Regions from separate parts of the Homo sapiens genome. Here regions 1, 2 and 4 are each linked to region 3. The links are contacts of gene promoters, found by promoter capture Hi-C in human tissues and cell types (Jung and others, 2019). All regions are on one chromosome and are shown on one strand. The core of a region is centred on a gene start or on the middle of the fragment in contact, and the rest is flanking DNA. Distances in the headings are between cores, read along the strand shown. Region 1 holds the start of LINC00628 (long intergenic non-protein coding RNA 628). Region 2 has its middle 14 kb from the start of PPP1R15B. Region 3 holds the start of KISS1 (KiSS-1 metastasis suppressor). Region 4 overlaps PLEKHA6 (pleckstrin homology domain containing A6).

The links. Contacts are between HindIII fragments. The study calls those that stand out against the background at their distance.
Region 1: a fragment that was not itself captured here is called in contact with the fragment with the promoter of KISS1 in region 3 in 1 of the 25 tissues and cell types used here (IMR-90 fibroblasts).
Region 2: a contact is called between a fragment that was not itself captured here and the fragment with the promoter of KISS1 in region 3, in 7 of the 25 tissues and cell types used here (H1 embryonic stem cells, IMR-90 fibroblasts, aorta and 4 more).
Region 4: a contact is called between a fragment that was not itself captured here and the fragment with the promoter of KISS1 in region 3, in 1 of the 25 tissues and cell types used here (dorsolateral prefrontal cortex).

Annotation. Positions count from the first base shown.
Region 1 is chr1:204,369,408-204,372,107 of GRCh38, reverse strand. It overlaps LINC00628 (long intergenic non-protein coding RNA 628), which reads left to right and starts at 2,389. Exons shown (of 1, transcript NR_027022.1): 1 at 2,389-2,700. It also overlaps a transcript of PLEKHA6 not described here. The HindIII fragment of the contact is 5,024 bases long and covers 1-2,700 here.
Region 2 is chr1:204,396,781-204,399,480 of GRCh38, reverse strand. It overlaps a transcript of PPP1R15B not described here. Among named protein-coding and RNA genes, the nearest start is that of PPP1R15B, 14 kb to the left of the region's middle. The HindIII fragment of the contact is 6,586 bases long and covers 1-2,700 here.
Region 3 is chr1:204,195,104-204,197,803 of GRCh38, reverse strand. It overlaps KISS1 (KiSS-1 metastasis suppressor), which reads left to right and starts at 1,313. Exons shown (of 3, transcript NM_002256.4): 1 at 1,313-1,428. The HindIII fragment of the contact is 9,045 bases long and covers 1-2,700 here.
Region 4 is chr1:204,334,032-204,336,731 of GRCh38, reverse strand. All of the region lies in intron 1 of PLEKHA6 (pleckstrin homology domain containing A6), which reads left to right. Among named protein-coding and RNA genes, the nearest start is that of PLEKHA6, 25 kb to the left of the region's middle. RefSeq lists an enhancer at 1-189. The HindIII fragment of the contact is 6,420 bases long and covers 1-2,700 here.

The DNA of each region.
Region 1 (2,700 bases), core at 4-2,503, 170 kb before region 3:
AAGGACTATGGGTTCATGCAGTCTCCTCCTTTTCTTATCCATTCGAGAAGCTGCCAGTTAAGGACCTTCCTTGTTTTTCCCACCTGACTTTAGCAATCATCTCTAACATTGCCTCTGCCGTGAAGCCTTCATGCTTCCCCTTCCTTAACCTCATGCCAGGTAGCCCTTGTTTCTTTGCGATGGTATCACACTTTCTACACATAGTTACAATAGGGATTACAGTGCCTATCATATTGTATTGCAGCTATCTTTTTATGCATTTGTTTCCCAGTGGGATGTAGATTCTTTGAGGTTAGGGATTCGATATTATTCATCCTGAAATCCTCAGAGTGTGCTTAGTAAATAATTCTCTGTGAATGTGAATGAATGAACAGCCTTGTGGATGCTCTCATCTCATGTGTCTGGGATTGAATAGTCGGTGTTAATGTGAATCTGGAGATGAGTGTCCTGCTCAGAAAAGCCTCTCTTGTAGCTGACACTTTCTTATTGATCTTTCTGCAGTGATGAGGAAAAGTCAACCAGCTGGGTGCACCCTGGAACAAAGTCACCCATCCAGAGTGGACACACCTCCTGCCCAGGTAAGGAACCTGTCTGTCCCTGCCTTTGCAATTGAGGAGGATGTAATAGCTTGAGGTGGCAGCAGGAATCCTGTGCCCCAACTTTGCTTCTGACTTTTTCCTTTCTCCATGGATGGACTCAGCTTAGCATTTGGACTGCCTGCCATCTGGGGGAGATTGCAGGCTTGTTGGAGCTCACCTCAGTGTCTCTCTAAGCTTCCACCTCCAAAATTAGTATCTGAGATGGGCCTTTGAGGACAAAGATTTTTACTCATCTTTCATCCCTCTGCCCAGTCAGAAAATCCCCTGTCTCAAGGGCTCTTGAACTGGCAGAAGCCAGCCCCCAGTGCTGCGCTCTAGAACTTTTATGTCGTGATGGAAGGGTTCTCTATCTGCTCTGCCCAATACAATTGCCATGAGCCACATGTGGCAATGAACAACTGAAATGTTACAAGCATCACTGAGGCCCTGAATTTTTTTTTTTTTTTTTTTTTTTTGAGGCAGAGTCTTACTCTGTCGCACAGGCTGGAGTGCAGTGGCACAATCTCGGCTCACTGCAACCTCTGCCTCCCGGGTTCAAGAGATTCTCGTGCCTCAGCCTCCCAAATAGCTGGGATTACATGTGTGTGCCACCACACCCAGCTAATTTTTGTATTGTTAGTAGAGATGGGGTTTTGCCATGTTGGCCAGGCTGGTCTCAAACTCCTGACCTCAGGTGATCCACCCACCTCGACTTCCCAAAGTGCTGGGATTATAGGTGTGAGCCACTGTGCCCAGATGGATTTTTAATCCTAATTAATTCAAATGTAAATGGCCCCATGTAGCTAGTGGGAGCGCCTGTTTCTCCCACTGAGGAGAAACATGAAAGGGGACAAGGCTGACATTCATTGCTGATTATGGAGAAAACATCACTGGTAGCCCTCAGGGCTAGTGGGAAAGGTGGGACACAAACAGGTCAGAAATGAAGAAACAACCAAGGAAAAAGACTTCAGTCTAAGTTGTTGAGGTAGAGACATCAAGAATCACAAGGCCTAGGTACTTTAACTGAACAGCCATTCATCCTCCTCATGACGCCACCACGGGCCAGTAAGAGGGGGTGTGGGTCACAGTGCGGGGAGATATCTCTCCCCTTCCCGCCTTCCAGCCCTTCCCCCTCTCGCCTTCCAGCGCTTCACCGGACTGGACACTAGGCGCCTGGTTCCAAGGCCTCCGTCAATCATGGGCACAGCTGGCACTGCTGGACACACAGGATGAAGCCTTTGGCTTGTTCAGAGTCCTTTTCTTTTTAGCTTCTGAGCTGGGATCATTTCTGGAAGAGACTTCAGGGATCATGGAGTTCGACTCTTCATTTTATGGTAGAAACATTGAAGAACAGAGAGGAAGTACCTGGCTCAAGGCCATTTGACTAATAAGCAAAGTGGTGTCATGGTTAAAGGCATACATTTTGGAGGCAGAGAGATCTGAGCTCAATCTTGGTTCTATTGCTTCCAGTGTGCTCTTGCACTAGGGGTTTAATTCTTCCTGGACTTAGCTTCTTCATCTTTATAATGGGGAGAGGATTATGAACCTCAAAAAAGTAGTAGCATTACATCAGAGAGGTGGCTCCCAAAATGGAGGTGGCTGCTGCTGTTATTGTCACCATTGTATTTCCAACTTGCAGCGAGGCCTCCTGACTCTAAGGCCAGGGCTGTTTTCTTCTACCAGGTTGATGGTGGTGTCACCTTCAGTGTTTCAGCTGTTTACAGGTTGAGTCCTTCCACCTCATTATCATCCTAGGTAGGAGTGGAAGATGAATACCAGCCTGTGAGCCAATGCTTTCATTTTTGGCTGCAGCCAACTGGTTGTCTAAGGCTGGGAAGGGGTTAAGATGCCCCCGGAGCTTGCCGCGAGGGCAGCTGCCTCAGCGGGCACTCCGCCTGGATGGGAATATAAGCACTCTTGGTGTTGCCCAGGCAGAGAGGGCAGTGTGGAGGGAAGTTGCTAGAAAAAGGCAGGGGACATAATCCATACTGGCCTCTTTCCCAGGCACATCACAGTGGCAGAATTATTTATGATTCTGACCCAATGGGGATCCCTCTACTTGGGGAGACTGCCAACCCACGCCCTCCTGAATGGCAACGTCCTCCCACAGAGACAGAGGGGA
Region 2 (2,700 bases), core at 76-2,575, 200 kb before region 3:
TCCAGCGATTCTCCTGCCTTAGCCTCCTAAGTAGCTGGGACTACAGGCAGATGCCATCACACCCAGCTAACTTTAATTTTTTTGTAGAGATGGGGTTTCACCATGTTGCCCAGGCTGGTCTCGAACTCTTGGGCTCATGAGCTGCCTGCCTTGGCCTCCCAAAATGCTGGGATTATAGGCGTGAGCCACCACGCCTGGACTCTTTTTTTTAATATATATAAATAGAGATGGGGTCTGGCTATGTTGCCCATATAGCAACTCCTGGCCTCAAGCAGTCCTCCTGCCTTGGCCTCCCAAAGTGCTGGGATTACATGTGTGAGCCACTGGGCCTGGCCAAGTTAATAGCTTTCCCAAAGTCACCTCTCTTATCAGCTTTATTGAAGTTTCATCCACACAGCCTTGTCTGACCAGAAACAAGTGTGCCACAATCATCAGATGATGTAGAATCACAGAATTTAAATGTCCTTAGAGAAAAGCTACCGTAAGCTTTAACTAAATTTGTAGAAAGTAATTACAAATTTCAATTTGGCTAGGTATACCACATCCATTAATTCTAGTGTCATTATTAATATAAGACACATTGTTAATTTATGAATTTAATATGCGAGCAAATCAACTGAGACCCTCCTTTCCCAGAATTAATAGGCTGCATTGGAGTACCAGAGTATTCTTGCCACCACACCAGGGGTTTTAGCTCTTTGGCAGAAGATTGGCTTTGGGTTTCTAGTGATGCTCTGTTGTCTCCACCAGATGGCGTTATCTTCCATCTGGGAGTGCCTGATGGACACCTGTTATTACAGATCTGGTTGCTATTGCTCCCCTGGAGGTGGGTCCCTCAATGTGTAAACAAGCTGGAAAACTGCCCTGCCCTGCCCATTCCAGGCCTGCCTGGCCCAGTGTGACTCCACCTTTTTGTGGTAATTACCCAGAAGTAGGGGCTCTTTCTTATAGGAGAACCAAGATTTGTATTTGAACACAAACAAAGGAACTGATTTTTTTTTTGAGTCTTGCTGTCGCCCAGGCCTAGGCTGGAGTACAGTGGCACGGTCATAGCTCACTGCAGCCTCCAACTTTTGGGCTTAAACAATCCTCCCACCTCAGCCTCCCAAGTAGCTAGGACCACAGGCATGCACCACATTGCCTGGCTAATTTTATTATTTTTGTGTGTAGAGATGGGGTCTAATTATATTGCCTAGGCTGGTCTCAAACTCCTGGCTTCAAGAGATCCTACTGCCTGGGGCTCCCAAAGTGTCGCGATTACAGGCATGAGCCACCTCACTTGGCCCTTGTATACTTTTTTATCACTGTTCAAGTCACATTGAATTTTAATTGTGATTTGCTCTTTCCTTTCTTCCTCTGTGGTGGAAGGGTCTGCGCAGTGACCAGAGTATTTTAGACACATGATACACTTTTCTTTAACTCAAGTGGTAATTTCCATAGCCTCTTTTTTCCAACACACAGGCTCCCTCCCGACATAACAAGTAATTTATGAATTCATTTCAAAGAAGCAATTTTGTATGTGAAAAGGTCTATCTTCAATGTTTACATTATTTTGTATTTGTAGTATTTGATTTTTTTTTTTTTGAAAAGCTAGCATTATTAGTGATGACCTGAAACCCAAAGTTTTAAATCAGTTGATGTAAGGTCGTCATGACTACTCTTTCCAGTGGTAGCCTAAGGTTCGCTGAAACATTGTCATCGTTATGAAAGGCACTTCATTATGCAGGATACCATTCATATCCAGTTTTCTAAGATGGTTGAGGACATTGTTTTTTAAACTTTTCTGTTTTTTAAATTGACAAAAATTGTATATGTTTACTGTCTACAACATGATGTTTTGAAATATGTGTACATTGTGGAATGGTAAGTCAAGCTAATTAACATGTATTACCTCACATACTTAGCATTTTTTTTGTGGTAAGAACCCTTAAAATCTACTCTTAGCAATTTCCTTTTTCTATTTATTTATTTATTTGAGACAAGCTGGAGTGCAGTGGTGCAATTTCGCCTCACTGTAACCTCCGCGTCCTGGGCTCAAGCAATTCTCATGTCTCAGCCTCCCAAGTAGCTGGGACTACAGGCGCGTGCCACCACACCCGGCTAATTTTTTGTATTTTAGTAGAGACAGGTTTCACCCCATGTTGCCCAGGGTGGTCTCGTACTCCTGAGCTCAGGTGATCTGCCTGCCTTGGCCTTCCAAAGTGCTGGGATTACAGGCGTGAGCCATCACGCCTGGGCTTTTTATTTATTTATTTTATTTTATTTTATTATTTATTTATGTATTTATTTATTTTGAGACAGAACCTTGCTCTGTTGCCAAGCTGGAGTGCAGTGGCATGATCATGGCTTTCTTCAGCCTCAACCTCCTGGGCTCAGGCAATCCTCTTGCCTCAGTTTCCCGAGTAGCTGGGACCACAGGCTCACACCACCACAACAGGCTAATTTTTAAGTTATCTGTAGGGGCGAGATCTCCCTATATTGCCCAGGCTGGTCTTGAAGTCCTAGGCTTAAGTGTTCCTCCTGCCTCCCAAAGTGTTGAGATTACAGGTGTGAGCCACCTCACCTGGCCAATTTGCAAGAATATAATACATTGTTATTGACTATGGTCACCATGTCGTACAGTAGATCTCTTGAACTTATTCCTCCTCACTGAAAGTTTGTATCCTTTGAGCAACGTCTCCCCAACCCACTTCTTGTTTT
Region 3 (2,700 bases), core at 64-2,563:
GACAGGCCAACGTACACATCATCCCCACAGCGAAGTTTTGGTCTATGAGGGTCAGTGCTGTCCTCATAGGCTATCATTTCTGTCCTGGTGTTTAACAGCCCTAATGGGTGTGATAATAATATGTTTGCAATCCCCTGTTAACAGTAAGCATCAGACAAGTGAGGGGTGCTAACCTGCAGACTGCCGGCATGCTTCTCCAGCATTAGGGGACGACCAGGTTGAGCTTGTGCTGGGAGAGCGTCCTGTCTGAGGGTAGAGACATAGCCCCTGCCTTCAGAGACTCCCAGCCTGATAGAAGAAACAGTCTCTGCCCTGGAGAGCCCCTTGTCCAAGGGTATAGAGAGTTATTGCAGGCTCAAGAAAGAGACAAAAGTCACTTGCGATGCATGCAGTTAGCAAATATCTATTGAGGGCCCTCTCTGTATGTGCCCAGCAATGGAGTGGGTGCCAAGGGTACAGGGGGAAGGGGGCCTGTCCCTGTCCTCAAAGTGCTGTACCTGAGCAGTCACAAAATAGTATGGTGGTGGGTGCCACGAGACAAGAAGGTGGGGCCCCCAAGCAGGCTGTCTGGATGTGCTGCCACCTGGAAGTCCCCTCTCTGCACCCCTGGCACTTCCCAGGTGCATCCACCTTCTGCAGCTCCCATTTCGTCCTCCTTGCTCATAGCTGGTTGCTTACCTAAGGTCTCTGACCAGTCCATAGCCTATTCACCTCAAAACCCTGCGCTGAGGAAGCGCTCAGTGACCGAGGAAAGAAGGGAAGCAGGAAGGAAGGAAAAAGGAGAGAATCTCTGCCACCACCACCCTGTGCCAGTCACAGGGCGCAGTCTAGGAGCCGCCTGGAGACCCACGCTGACCTGGCTTTCCCTCAGAGCTGGGAGCATGGGATGTGAGGAGCCCCTGGGTCAGCCTGTGCCCTTCTCCTCCCCTCTTCCTGTCGTTTTCTACGTCTAATTCAGACTAGGTGTGTCTGTGGCTCTTCGGAGAGGAAACAAGACATTTCACACTGACACTTCTCCCCACCCTCCTCAGATAGCCCATTTCCACGTTGTTTGGGGGCAGGATGGGTCCTCTGGGTGGGAAGAGGGTGTGGAGGATGGAAAGAGCCGGTAAGAAGGAGAAAGTCCCGCCTCGGAGGGCTCGGGTGGGGCAGGAGGAGAGGCTGCCTCCAGTCACAGAGCCCGGAGGCAGAGGCCTCCCAAGGTGCCATGCTCTTCAGGAGGGTCTGAGGAGGAGGGAGGGGCGGCAGAGTGGGCCTGTGCTTGGAGACGTCACCCCGGGCTTTATAAAAGGGATGTGATCAGGGAGCTGGGGAGAACTCTTGAGACCGGGAGCCCAGCTGCCCACCCTCTGGACATTCACCCAGCCAGGTGGTCTCGTCACCTCAGAGGCTCCGCCAGACTCCTGCCCAGGCCAGGACTGAGGCAAGGTAGGCACACTGCAGTGTCCACCCCTGGGAAGGGGGTCTGCCCTGACCTGGGGATGCTCTGGAGGGGAGCAGGGAATCCGTTCTAAGACGGACAGATGCATCCAGGCAGGCAAAGGCAGGGGAGGGAGACACTGATCTTTCCTGTTTACCAGCCTGGCCAGATTATCCTGGGATGCCTGGGCGAATACACTGAGTCGCACTTTATTTGTGAAGCTAACACTCTGGGGATCCCGAGGGCTCTCTCTTGCTGTGGAAGGAATACATGCAATAAATAAATGCTGTGGCTGGAATTAGAGACCACAGACACGCTTGGATGGACCTAGGGAACCGCTCGGGGCTCTTGAGAGCAATGGGGCTCCTCTGAGCAGCTCCCCCCAAATTACAGATGGCAAATACAAGCCTAACCAAGGGCATCTACCTACCCACTAAGAACTAGGGGCCACTTCACTCCAGAAGCTTTCCAACCATGCCTGGAATTTCTGTCACTCACTGGATACAAACCCCCCAGGGTGGAGGGAACCACAAAAATTGTCTACAGCAGGTCGGCCACTCATGGCCCCTTTCCAAATAATTCATTTCTACCATATATGTTAAGTGCCCCGATGGGCTGGGCAGTGGAATCTGTGTGTGTGTGTGTGTGTGTGTGTGTGTGTGTGTGTGATATGTGTGTATGGGTGTATGTGTGTATATGTGTGTGATGTGTGTGCGCATGTGTGGTGTATGTGGTGTATGTGTGTGTATGATGTACGTGTATGGGTGTATGTGTGTATATGTGTGTGGCGTGTGTGTGCATCTGTGGTGTGTAGTGTATGTGTACGGGTGTATGGGTATATATCTGTGTGGTGTGTGTGCATGTGTGGTATGTGTGGTGTATGTGTGTGTATGATGTGTATGTATGGATGTGTGTATGTGTGTGTGTATGTTGTGTGTATGGGTGTATGTGTGTATATGTGTGTGTGGTGTGTGTGCGTGTGTGGTGTGTGTGCATGATGTGTGTGTATAGGTGTATGTGTGTATATGTGTGTGGTGTGTATGCGTGTGTGGTGTGTGTGGCATATGTGTATGTGTGTGTATGGGTGTATGTGTGTGGTGTGTGTGGTGTATGTGTGTGTGTATGATGTGTGTGTATGGGTGTATGCGTGTATATGTGTATGGGTGTGTGCGTATATATGTGTGTGGTGTGTGTGTGCATGTGTGGTGTGTGTGGTGTATGTGTGTGGTGTGGGGGGTGTGTGTGTGTGTGCTGGGGTCAGGCAGAGTTGTCCCATGGCG
Region 4 (2,700 bases), core at 61-2,560, 140 kb before region 3:
GAATTTGCAAATATATGTCTTTTGTGCTTACAAGCCCATGGGAGGGTAAGGCAGGGAGGAGGAGGGCAGAATGCAAGCTGGGCAGTATGCAAGTTGGCCTAGTGCATGATCTAAGTATTTTCCCCAGTGTATGTATGTGCGTGCACACACACACACACACACACACACGCTCACACACCTCTTTCAGGAGGTCTGCCCTGATGGCCTCAGCTAGAACTAACCTCTCCTTCCGCTGAATTCCTGTGGCACCAGTGACTTGTATCACTCACAGCAAATCTATGCTTTCAGTTGTACAGTGGTAGCAGAAGATCGTATTGGATAAATAAGTTGGGGCTGGATTGTAAAAGACCTTGCATTTCAAGCCTCCATCCTGCAGACAGTAGAGAAGCACTGCAGGTTTGTGAGCCAGGGCATGATTGGATTGTCACTTGCGGGGAGCAGGGAGACCAGACCAGAGGTAGAGGCACCCTGTCATCTCAAGGGCAACAGGACTGGGGATGACTTGGTGCAGGTGGGTTGCTGGACCAGTTTAATCTGCAGTCTGAAGGCAGTGTCATGGACAGGGAAGATTGGTTGGTGATGAGGGTTTAGGATGCCGCACTGAGAGCTGTTTTGGGGGCTCAGTGGGTGTGGTTGGGGACCTGTGTCTTAGGGTAGAGTTGGTGACTGGAGACAGAAGAAGACCAGATGGAATTAGGTACAGGACCCTTACAAAGCCCTTCTTGACACTAGAGAAGTTTACATTGGGCCACCCCCTTATGTAGGGGCATGTGCCCTGGAACACTTTAGAGGCTTCTCTTAAAGGTGACATGGCAGAATTATTTGCTGGCTATCAAAGTTATTGAGATGAGGTGACAGGGGCTGTGGCAGAGCCAAAGCTATGGGGTCTGGGTCCAAAGACAGGTACAGATGTGCCCTGCCCATGCCACATGGACACTGTCATCCTCCACAGCCCAGCTCAGAGCAGCTGGCCCTTTCACTCCCCCGGGGCTCAGCATTTACTGCCCAGACAGAAAAGGGGAGGGAATGACATGACTCCTTGTCTGTCTGCTTTCTCCCAAGGTCACCTTTGTCTCTGCTTGTCAAAACTGGCATCATCTCCCTGGCACTGCCAGTCCTGGAGCTGGGGGCTGCATGGTGTTCCCTCAATGTCTTCTTGCCTTAACCCAGTTGCTCTGGCAAAGAGCAGGGAGAGGTGCAGCGGCCACTGCGGCGTAAAGATGCCTTTGAGAGATGGGATCCCCTTCAGACTCTTCTCTAGCCCTGAAGTGCAGCCTCCCTCCCTGTCCCCTACTCCAGGAGGGGCCTTCTCCAGGGCCTTTCTCTGCTGGGGAAGGAAGGGAGGGACTTGGTCCAAGGGAGCCAGCCTGGCTGTCTATATGTTGAGAGGAGTTGTCTGCAGTGCTGGGCTGAGGCCAAGCTAAACACCCCCCTGCCCAGCTGCCTGAGCCATTCTGCTTTCCTGGATTGGTGGGGAATGGGAGAGATTGTGTATGTGTGTGGGGGGAAGTGGTGGGGGCAGGGGTTTGTTATCTGCAGGTTAACCCTTGGGAGGCCAAGGGGAAGGAAAGCATCCAGTGGGAAAGTGCCGCTGTCTGTTTCTTGGATAGGTGATCTCATCCAGATCAAGTCCTTTAGTGGAAACTAGGAGATGGGGTGTGGATGGGGAAGGAAGAGACATTGGTCAAAGGGTACAAAGTTTCAGTTAGACAAGGGGAATAAATTCTGGTGATCTATTACACAGCATGGTGACTATAGTTAATAATAATATAATAATAAATTATATTTTTAAATTGCTAAAAGAGTAGGTTTTATTTTATTTTATTTTATTTTTTAGACAGAGCCTTGTTCTGTCACCCAGGCTGGAGTGCAGTAGTGCAATCTTGGCTCATGTAACCTCCACCTCCTGAGTTCAAGCTATTCTTGTGCCTTATCTTCCCAAGTAACTGGGATTATAGGTGTGCACTACCGCGCCCGGCTAATTTTTGTATTTTCAGTAGAGATGCGGTTTCACCATGTTGGCCAGACTGATTTCGAATTCCTGACCTCAAGTGATCCACCCACCCTGACCTCCCAAAGTGCTGGGATGACAGGCATGAACCACCCACTGCGCCCTGTCAAGAGTAGGTTTTAAATGTTCTCACCACAAAGAAATGATAAATATGTGAAGTGGTAGATATATTAATTAGCCTAGTTTGATCATTTCACAATGTATACATGTATCAAACCATCGCATTTTACCCCATAAATAGATGCAATCATTATTTATCAAATAGAAAAAGACCAAGTTTGGAATGATAGCCCCAGAACCATCCTCCGTGGTGATCTTATGAGGAGCACAAATGTATGTCATAGGTAATTAGGAAAGTTGTGTGGAGGGTCAGAGTCTTTGACTCCCTCTCTTAGGACAAAGATTTGAGGTTTGACTGAGCAGGATACAAAGGCTTTGCGTCCCACTCATCTTGTTGCCTCTCCCTGCCACCCTTGGCTCTCCCGCTGTGATGGAGGGTTAGCTATGCTGTCTGCCTTCATCCCTTGCCCAGAAGCATGTTCACCACAGGGGAGCTTTTCCAGGCACCTGGACCGAAGCATATCTGTCCTTACTGCACTTGTATATCATCCCATCCCAGGACTTCCCCCAGAGCAGGTTCTAGAAATGGGATTCTCTTCCTTGCCACCCCTGCTTTCATATTACCCTTG